2 separate regions of the Homo sapiens genome follow, and region 2 is linked to region 1. Evidence: promoter capture Hi-C in 16 types of primary human blood cells and fetal thymus (Javierre and others, 2016). All regions are on one chromosome and are shown on one strand. The core of a region is centred on a gene start or on the middle of the fragment in contact, and the rest is flanking DNA. Distances in the headings are between cores, read along the strand shown.

Region 1 (6,324 bases), core at 2,290-4,789:
AAATATGTGTTCATGTGTAAACTTATATGACTGTAAAAGAGTATCCGGAAAAATAAGCAGTAAATTATTTGCAGTGGATACCCCATGGGATATATATGGGGTGGGTTTCACTCTTCCCTTGAATTCTTTTGAATGGTTTAAATTTTTGTCAATGAGTGCAACATAGTATTTCTTTAAAACCTGGTATTCACAACTATCTAGTATAAAAGTACACATATTGGCCAGGCACAGTGGCTCATACCTGTAATCCCAGCATTTTGGGAGGCCAAGGTGGGCAGATCGCTTGAGCCCAGGAATTTGAGACCAGCCTGGGCAACATAACAAAACCCCATCTCTACAAAAACACAAAAATTATCCGGCATGGTGGCACATGCCTGTAGTCCCAGCTACAGGGGAGGCTGAGGTGGGAGCACCAATTCAGCCTGGGAGGTTGAGGCTGCAGTGAGCCATTATCACACCACTGCACTCCAGCCTGGGCAACAGAGTGCGACTCTATCTCAAAATAAATAAATAAATAAAACGCATACCTTACGTAGCCAAAATTAACATGCTTCATCCAGGCCCCACCATCAAAATCTCACTATCCAAGGTCCCACTGTCTAAGGTTACTTAGACAGTGGGACACCTCAAAACACATCTTACATTTCTCAGTCTCTCTAGGGGTGTGAAAGGTACTGACACATTTTTTAAACAATATCAGACATGACAAGCCCTTTTTTTTCTTTTTTTGAGACAGAGTCTTACTCGGTCGCCAGGCTGGAGTAGAGTGGCACGATCTGGGCTCACTGCAACCTCCGCCTCCCGGGTTCAAGCAATTCTCCTGCCTCAGCCTCCCAAGTAGCTGGGATTACAGGCGCCTGCCACCATGCCTGGCTAATTTTTGTGTTTTTAGTAGAGACAGGGTTTCACCATGTTGGCCAGGCTGGTCTCAAACACCTGGACTTTGAGTGATCTACCCGTCTCAGCCTCCCAAAGTGCTGGGATTACAGGTGTGAGCCACCACACCCAGTCGACAAGCCCTCTTTTTAAAATATATCCCTGGTCCTCAAAGGCAGTTAAAGCTGTGAGCCACCTATACTAGCTGTAAATTAAAGCTTAAGATTTCACCTGGGTATGTTTCTAAAATAAGAATCCTTAGGAATGTATTATTAAGAGGGGCCAGAGGCAACAGTAATGGAGTCATCACCTTCCTTAACATGTCTGCTTAATATTCAAAAATAAATGTGATCATACCACTCCTTTACATGAATTACCTCCACCAGTCCATACTGTGGGACCAAAGCCAGACAGCCTGCCAGTAAGAAAAGGAATCTAGATTGCAGGATGCGGGGCGGAGAAGAGTTTTTAAGAATGGAGAAATGCATTCCAAACCCAAGTAGCAGGGTTGTATTTGTTCAGGTCAGCTCTGAGCATCATGCGTCTTTTTTTTTTTTTTTTAAGACAAAGTCACGCTCTTGTCGCGCAGGCTGGAGTGCAATGATGCGATCTCGGCTCACTGCAACCTCTGCCTCCTGGGTTCAAGCAATTCTCCTTCCTCAGCCTCCCGAGTAGCTGGGATTACAGGCGCCTGCCACCACACCCAGCTAATTTTTGGTAGAGACGGGGTTTCACCATGTTGATCAGGTTGGTCTTGAACTCCTGACCTCAGGCAATCCACCTGTTTCGGCCTCCCAAAGTGCTGGGATGACAGGCTAGAGCCTACGCGCCCAGCCCATCATGTGTCATTTTTATAGTGTGCATAAGTGCGGGGAATGTTAGTAAAGTGTATGGACAATCTGAAAACCCAGTTACACTTCAGTTAAAAGTGTGGATCAGTTAGCTAGAAAATACCTGCGCACGGCGGCTCATGCCTGTAATCCCAGCACTTTGGGAGGCCAAGGCATCACCGGAGGTCGGGAGTTCGAGACCAGCCTGACCAACATGGAGAAACCCCGTTTCTACTAAAAAAAATTACAAAATTAGCTGGGCATGGTGGCACATGCCTGTAATCCCAGCTACTCGGGAGACTGAGGCAGGAGAATCGCTTGAACCTGGGAGGCAGAGGTTGCGGTGAGCCAAGATCGCACCATTGCACTCCAGCCTGGGCAACAAGAGCAAAATTCCATCTCAAAAAAAAAAAAAAAAAGAAAAGAAAAAGAAAATACCTGTGCACACCAACACAAACGAAAGGATGTTGTGTGACTTACAAAAAACCTCACAAGAAGGGGTCCTTTGAGTCTCCACTCCACTTGACCCCTTGCTACTCACAATGTGATGAGTAGACAAACAGTATCTGATGGGCAGCACCCACCACAGGAGAACTTCTTAGAAATGCAGAATCTCAGGACCTGTCCCAGAGCTATGGAAGGAGGGCACACATCTTACCAAGATCCCCAAATGATTCCTGTGCCCAGTGACGTTCGAGATGCACTCCATAGCGCATTCAGAACCATTCTACAAACCACTTTTGAGCTTTCCACTAATTGGGCAGAGGCTGCACACACCATCATTGCAAATCGATAGGGGTTTTGAAGCCCTGGGTGTTTCCTGTTTCTGGCACAGCATGGCAACTGTCCCAGCAAGGGGCAGCCCACGGGAGCTCCTTTGCACACAAGCCCTGCTGCTCCTAAAGGCTCTGGACACACAGGAGACCTCCCAGCCTGCTTGCGGGGGGGGCGGGGGGGACACTCGCTCCTAACAGGTCTTGTTTCAGGTCAGAGATAACTGGATTAGAAACCTGACTTGGGTCCCTAATTGCAGAAAGAGTGAAGGAGGACAAAGAAGAAATGGGGAAGGAAGGCACCTGAGCTAGCACTTTCCTGTCTGAGGCTAGGGCGGGTATGACGGGCAGGCCAGGTGCCCACACTTGGCCGGCTGAGAGGGGTACGAGGCAGGCTGCTCAGGGCAGAGAAGAGGAATGCAAGATGGAATCAGGTGTACACCTGTGAGACGGACCCCCAGGTGGGCCCCTCCAAGGTCAAGGGAGGAGATGAGGACTTGAGTGAGGCTGAGCCAGCTTCTGGAGAGAGGGGCTACCAGACAGAGAGCGAGAGAGGCGCTCAGACATCAGACGGACAGACAGAGGCTGACGGCAGGAGGCTCAGAGGGCCCAACGTCAGCCCGCCGGGCAGGCTCCCCAGGCAGACAGACAGGACGGGGCCCACCGCCCAAGGCCCGACTCACAGGTGCGCGATGCCCGCCTTGCGCACCGCCGAAGAGATGGCTTTGACTGCTGTGCAGAGCGAGTTGAGCAGCTGGGTCAACTCGCCCGTGCCGCGGGCCTTCCTGCCCTCCTCCATGACGAAGCGGGTCAGGGTGTTGACGTCCGTGTCGAAGGGCGCCTGGTCAGCCATGCTTGAACCGGGTAGAGCGCGGGGCTGCAGGTGCAAGCGGCAGGTGCGGGGCTGCAGGTGCGGGCGGCAAGAGAGGGCAGTAGGCACTGGCCGCAGGTGCGGAGCTGCAGGTGCGGGCGGCAGGTGCGGGCCGCGGGACCTGGCGGGAGGACTGACAGACCGACTGCCGCCCCGAGTGTCCGCAGCGCTCGTGGTGCAACTGGGCCAGGCCAGGCGCCGGCGGGTGAATCGCGGAAACCTTTAGACGCGGGTCGGCCCCCCGCCCCCGGGAACACTCTTGCGCCCCGCCTACCCCGCGGACCAGACCGCGGCTCCGCCTGCTTGGATCTTCAGACAAGGTCGGGGATCCTCCCTGCGGTCTCCCAACCCCCGCCCCCACGCGCCCTGCCGCCCCCTAGTCTTCCTGGGCTGTCGCCCCCCACACACACCCCTCCGTGCCCTCCACCCGCACTGTGGAGCGGGACTCGGGCCATCGGACTCTGCCAGAGAGAAAGCTATGACTGTTTCCTCCAAAATCATAAAACGGAAGTTCAGAAAGGTTAAGTAACTTGCTCAATGCCACCAGCTAGGCAGCGAAACCCGCAGCCAGTCCACATGGCCTGGCTTTAGCTCTGCAGCTCCTGCCCCGTGTGGCTGCCTGCCCCCGCCCCCTGCCCAAGCCCCGTCCACTCTGCCTGGCCTGTCACCTGGCCCTTCTGTCCCCGCTAGGAGACACAGAGTCCCCGTTTCTCACCCATCTGAGGGCCCACGTCTGAATCCTTAATCCAGGCCTCTTCTCAAGATTCCTAGAATTCGAGAGCTATTGAGTATTTGAATTTCCAAGATGTGAGTCTCGCCCGGAAGTTTCCCGGAAAACGGTCGCTGACACAGAGTCCTCGGCTACCACACAAAGGCCAGAGGGCTCCACCGCCCGCATCCTGACCCCCTGGTAGCCACAATGCTGCAATTGATGTGCTGATTCACGAAACAACACCTATTGAGCACCTGCTGTGCTGAACACTGTCCTACCTTCCAGGGGTGGAGCCTGATCCAAACAGACAAAACTCCTGCCCTTTTCGAGTGTACGTTTTCACAGAGAAACAGTAAAAATAAATATATAAACAATAGATTAGTTTGTTACATAAGCCATAAGTACCATAGAGAGAAACGAAATAGAAAAGGAAGACACGGAATGTGGAGGGGAGAAGAGGGTGAGCAGAGGCCTCAGTAAAAGCTTCTCTGAGAAAGGGATATGTGAGCAAAGAGGTGAAGGATGCAACGCGCCGGTGGAGATGGGAAGGAGAGCGGTTTCCTCACCGGGAGAGCCAGTGCACAGGCCCTGGGGTAGGAGACCATGTTTCAGGTTCAGGGAATGGCCAGGAGACCGGTGGAGCTGAAATAGAGCTAGCAAGGGTCAGAGGTGGAGGAGATAAGGCCAGCGGGAGGATGCAGAGGTGAGGTCTAGAGGGCCAAGTGAGGTTTGACTTTGACTAGGAGGAACCCACTGGAGAGTTTGGAGAAGAAGAGAGGCATGGTCTACCCTGTGTCTTCATACTGCGGCTACTGTGTGAAGATCAGACTGAAGACAGTGCCCTCCAGGTTACTAGGAGATAGTGAGCCAGGTGTTAGCAGTGGAGGTGGTGGATTCTGGACATATTTTGAAGGTAGAGCTGATGGGATTCGTTGACAGATGAGATATGTGAGAGACAGGAGTCTCGGATGATTCTAAGGTTTGAGGCCTGAGAAACTAGAAGAATGCAGTTGTCCTCGACTGCGATGGGGAACACCGAGAGGGGCGTGTGCTGGAGGCAGGACTGACAATTAGGAGCTAAGTGTGGGACCTGCTAAGTTTGAAATGCCTTCTAGACATCCAAGGCAATGTCAAATAGACAGATTTATGTATCTGGAGTTCAGAGGAGAGATCCATGCTGCAGGTATAAATTGGAAAAGCCAACTGGAAAAACCAACCAAAAACCAAGAGATGTGACATCCGGGAAGCCAGATGAAGAAGGTAAGTAAAGGCGGGCTGACCCATGTGCCAAGCGGTGTGGATGGGGCAGGCAGGACAAGCTCTGAAAATTGACTGCTGGATTCACCGTGGAGACCTGGGGTGCAGATTCCTGTGCCCAGGGTTGTCAGATGCGGCGGCGTTGAATGAAGGAAGGTGGTGGTACCACCAGGAAAGACAGCGACTGTCTCCTCAAAGCCCCAGAGGGGACTTAGATGCCTGGCAAAGAGAGTTGATCCTTTAAGGGTCTTATTTAACTCTTTGTTCCTCAGGCAACTTTTCAGGAAAAACCCTGTGTTAAAAAAAATAGTAAGAGAAATACATCCTTAAACATAAAAACTCAAATAGGCCCGGCTCACTGGCTCACACCTGTAATCCCAGCACTTCACTTTGGGAGGCCGAGGCGGGCAGATCACCTGAGGTTGGGAGCTCGAGACCAGCCTGACCAACATGGAGAAACCCCGTCTCTACTAAAAGTACAAAAATTAGCTGGGCATGGTGGTGCATGCCTGTAATTCCAGCTACTCAGGAGGCTGAGGCAGGAGAATCGCTTGAACCTGGGAGGCGGAGATTGCAGTGAGCAGAGATGGCACCATTGCAGTCCAGCCTGGGCATCAAGAACAAAACTCCATCTCAAAAAAAAAAAAAAAAAAGAAAAACAAACAAACTGGAGGCTGAGGCGGGCAGATCTTGAGGTCAGGAGTTCAAGACCAGCCTGGCCAACATGGTGAAACCCATCTCTACTAAAATAAAAAATTAGCCGGGCATGGTGGTGTGCACCTGTAATTCCAGCTACTCAGGAGGCTGAGGCAGGAGAATCGCTTGAACCCGGGAGACAGAAGTTGCAGTGAGTCAAGATCCTGCCGCTGCACTCCAGCCTGGGCAACAGAGCGAGATTCAATCTCAAAAAAAAAAAAAAGAACTGAAATGTGATGACTAGTATTTTTGGCATAGTAACTAGTTACTAGGGGAGAGCTAGAGCTAGTAACTAGGGGAGTGTGCCCC
Region 2 (3,146 bases), core at 1-2,500, 530 kb after region 1:
CACGCCCAGCTAATTTGTACTTTTAGTAGAGATGCGGTTTTGACATGTTGGCCAGGCTCGTCTTGAACTCCTGAAATCGGGTGATCTACCTACTTCAGCCTCCCAAAGTGCTGGGATTAAAGGCATGTGCCACCGCACCTGGCCTAAATTGTGTACTGTTCTGAGTAGCATGATGAAATCTCATGCTGTCCCACTCTGTCCCATCTGGAACATGAATCATCCCTTTACCCAGGGTATCCATAATATATACACTACCTGCTCGTTAGTCACTTAGTAGCCATACTGGTTGTCAGATCAACTGTCACAGTATCACTGTGCTTGTGTTCAAGTAACTCTTATTTTATTAATACTTAATAATGACCTCAAAGTCCAAGAGCACTGGGGCTGGCAATTTGGATATGCCACAGAGAAGTTGTAAAGTGCTTTCTTTAAGTGAAAAGGTGAAAGTTTTCAACTTAATAAGGAAAGAAAAAAATCATATGCTGAGGTTGCTGAGATCTATAGTAAAAACAAATCATCTATCTGTGAAATTGTAAAGAAGGAAAAAAATTTCTGTTAGTTTTGTCGTTGCATCTCACATGGCAAAAATTACAGCCATCATATATGATAAGTGCTTAGTTACGATGGAAAAGACATTAAAGTTGTGAGTGGAATACAGAAATGTGTTATGATTGGTGGCAATCAGGTTTGGTACTATCCACAGTTTCAGACATCCACTGGGTGTCTTGAAATATATTCCCTATAGATAAGGAGGGATTACTGTATGCGATTTCCTCATCAGTGCTCCCGGTCAGTAGAGACAGAAATCAGTTCCTCAGTCTGCTTCCTAAAAAGTGAGAATGTTGGATGCACATTCCACTCTTCTTTTTCCCTCCCAAGGAAGAGAAGCCACAAGCTGGGTTTTTCCTACCAATCTCACCAAGCTGCCAGACCTGGAAAAGGGCTATCACAGTTGACATGAAACAGATTGTTTAATCAATTTCAATGTGGCTATTCTAGACTTTGAGCTTGCCTGCAGTACTGTGACTTCTTAATTGGTTCTGTAGTTCTCACTATAATTTTTTGGGATGTATGCTGTAGTTAAGTCAATGTCTCTACTGGAAAATAAGGTCTAGGACTTCCTATTCTGCCATCTTGCTGATGTCATTCCTGAAGAACGCCTTTAATGTTATTATTAATTCAGTTTTCATCTTCTAGTAATGACCTGCTTATATTCCTTGCTCATTTCTATAACGGAGTGTTTGCCTCTTTATGATTTATTTTTGCAAGTCATTTCTATATTTTGCATTCTGATCCTTTGTTTCTATTTGTTAACAGATTTTAAAAATTATTTTGTTTATTGTCAGCTGCTTTTTAAAAAATCAACTGTGATGCATATTTTGGGAGTTTGGTGTAGGGAGTACATACACACTGCACTGACTGATTTTTAAGGTCTTTTTGAATAAATTTATAATTACATAATTCAAAAGATCCATCAGTCAACATTCACCTCACAACCAAATCCAAGTCTTTACCTGACATGTAAATAAATAAATCTAAACACTCTCCATGTCTCCTATGGTTCTTCTTACATTGCCAAATCCAACATAATGAAGATTATCTCCAATGTTTTCCTCTAATAATTATATAGTTTAAGGGTTAGGTGCAAAGGATTCCTAAAGGTTGAGGACAAAGACAATTTCTGATAGAGCTTGAATTAGCAATAGCTTTACAAAAAAAAAAAAAAATCACCAAGTCCCTCAGTCCCAGATTCTCTTGGTTAATGATATGTCAAAAATGAAATGCCCACCAATGAAAACTGAGATTCTTTTACAGAGTGAAGAAACATTTGTAATGTGATTAATTGCCTTTTAATTTGTCTGAATCTCTTTGATTTGTTTAGTCTAGATTTTGGAATATCATGTTTCTTAAAATAGGGCATATGTTCACATCAAATGTTGCCTTGTAAATATCGTGTGTGTGTGTGTGTGTGTGTGTGTGTGTGTGTGTGTGTGTTGGGAGCAGAAGAAGGCAGAGCCAGGGCAGGCTAGTGTGAGAGCATACACTTGCATCTGTGCACATTCTCCTCTTGCAGAGTGAGCAATCCCAGGGTAAAACTAAGTACTGCTCTTTCTTTTATGCTCCCTACTGTGTATGTAGGGCTTTCTACCTAATGGGCCCACAAAAGACATTGTATGATTTACTTACTGCTCTGTGAGAGTTGAGAAAATAGTGATTTTTAAAAGAGTTTGAAAAAACTCACCAATTTGCTATGTATTCCACTAAAATAATCTTTCTATATAAAATACAACCATAACTGAACATCCATTTCCTATGAATTGTAAAATTTTCCTCTCATAACCAAACTGATACATTTTGAAACCTGAGAAGAAGGATGTTTAGTTTAACACCTACCGCCTTTGAGTGTTAAATCCATTAAGATGATTCTCTCTGAGTTCAGACGCTAATGATAAAACCATCTGTAAAACAAAATCAGTTGCAGGTTAACTCACGCTGCAAACAGGATTACATCAGTTCTATTTTTCTTGGTGTGAGTGATATTTCCGTTGAGATTCCCCCAACCCCCATCTTCTCATGTTTCACTCTGTCAGAGTGAAAAGGAAGCAGTGCCATGTCACATTTACTAATAATTGGGATTTTATGTTTAATGTCTATAATTCTGCATTCCTATTTAAGCAATGAACAATAGACAGGTCATTAATTTCCTAAGAATTAAAACCAAATCCATTTAAAGAAAAGTTAGTTTACTTCTTCATTTAAAATTCAGTTCATTTGAAAAAAAAAAAAAAGTTGTTATTGTACAAAGCTTCCAAAACACCGGAATGGTTAACAAACATTAAAAAATCTCATAACATTTTTTAGAAGAGTTACATCAAGTTTGTAAGTTAAAATTTCTCACATTTGGCTATAATTTAAGCCAGAAGAAAACAATGCTTTAATATTAAGAGGTAAATATTTAAAACTATGTACTGAATTTTCTGTTTTGCTTTAACAGAAAATTCCAATCAGGTTATTTGAAATACAAGATTCTTTCAACAGTACAAGACTGTGTTTATAATAGCTAAGAACAGCTCTTCTCCCAAACATCTCTGAGTGAATAAGTGAGATGTGTCCCTAGAAAGAGAGGCTGATTGGTTGGTTTAGGA

The links. Contacts are between HindIII fragments. The CHiCAGO score rates a contact against its expected background, and 5 or more counts as called.
Region 2: a fragment that was not itself captured here is called in contact with the fragment with the promoter of FBP1 in region 1 in 6 of 17 cell types (M2 macrophages, M1 macrophages, total B cells and 3 more); the score reaches 8.5 in M2 macrophages.

What each region holds. Positions count from the first base shown.
Region 1 is chr9:94,635,979-94,642,302 of GRCh38, forward strand. It overlaps FBP1 (fructose-bisphosphatase 1), which reads right to left and starts at 3,540. Exons shown (of 7, transcript NM_000507.4): 1 at 3,163-3,540. The coding sequence starts at 3,332. RefSeq lists a silencer at 3,614-3,673. The HindIII fragment of the contact is 3,451 bases long and covers 1,093-4,543 here.
Region 2 is chr9:95,168,685-95,171,830 of GRCh38, forward strand. FANCC (FA complementation group C) reads right to left here. Exons shown (of 15, transcript NM_000136.3): 6 at 2,395-2,459. Among named protein-coding and RNA genes, the nearest start is that of MIR3074, 84 kb to the left of the region's middle. The HindIII fragment of the contact is 3,108 bases long and covers 1-2,804 here.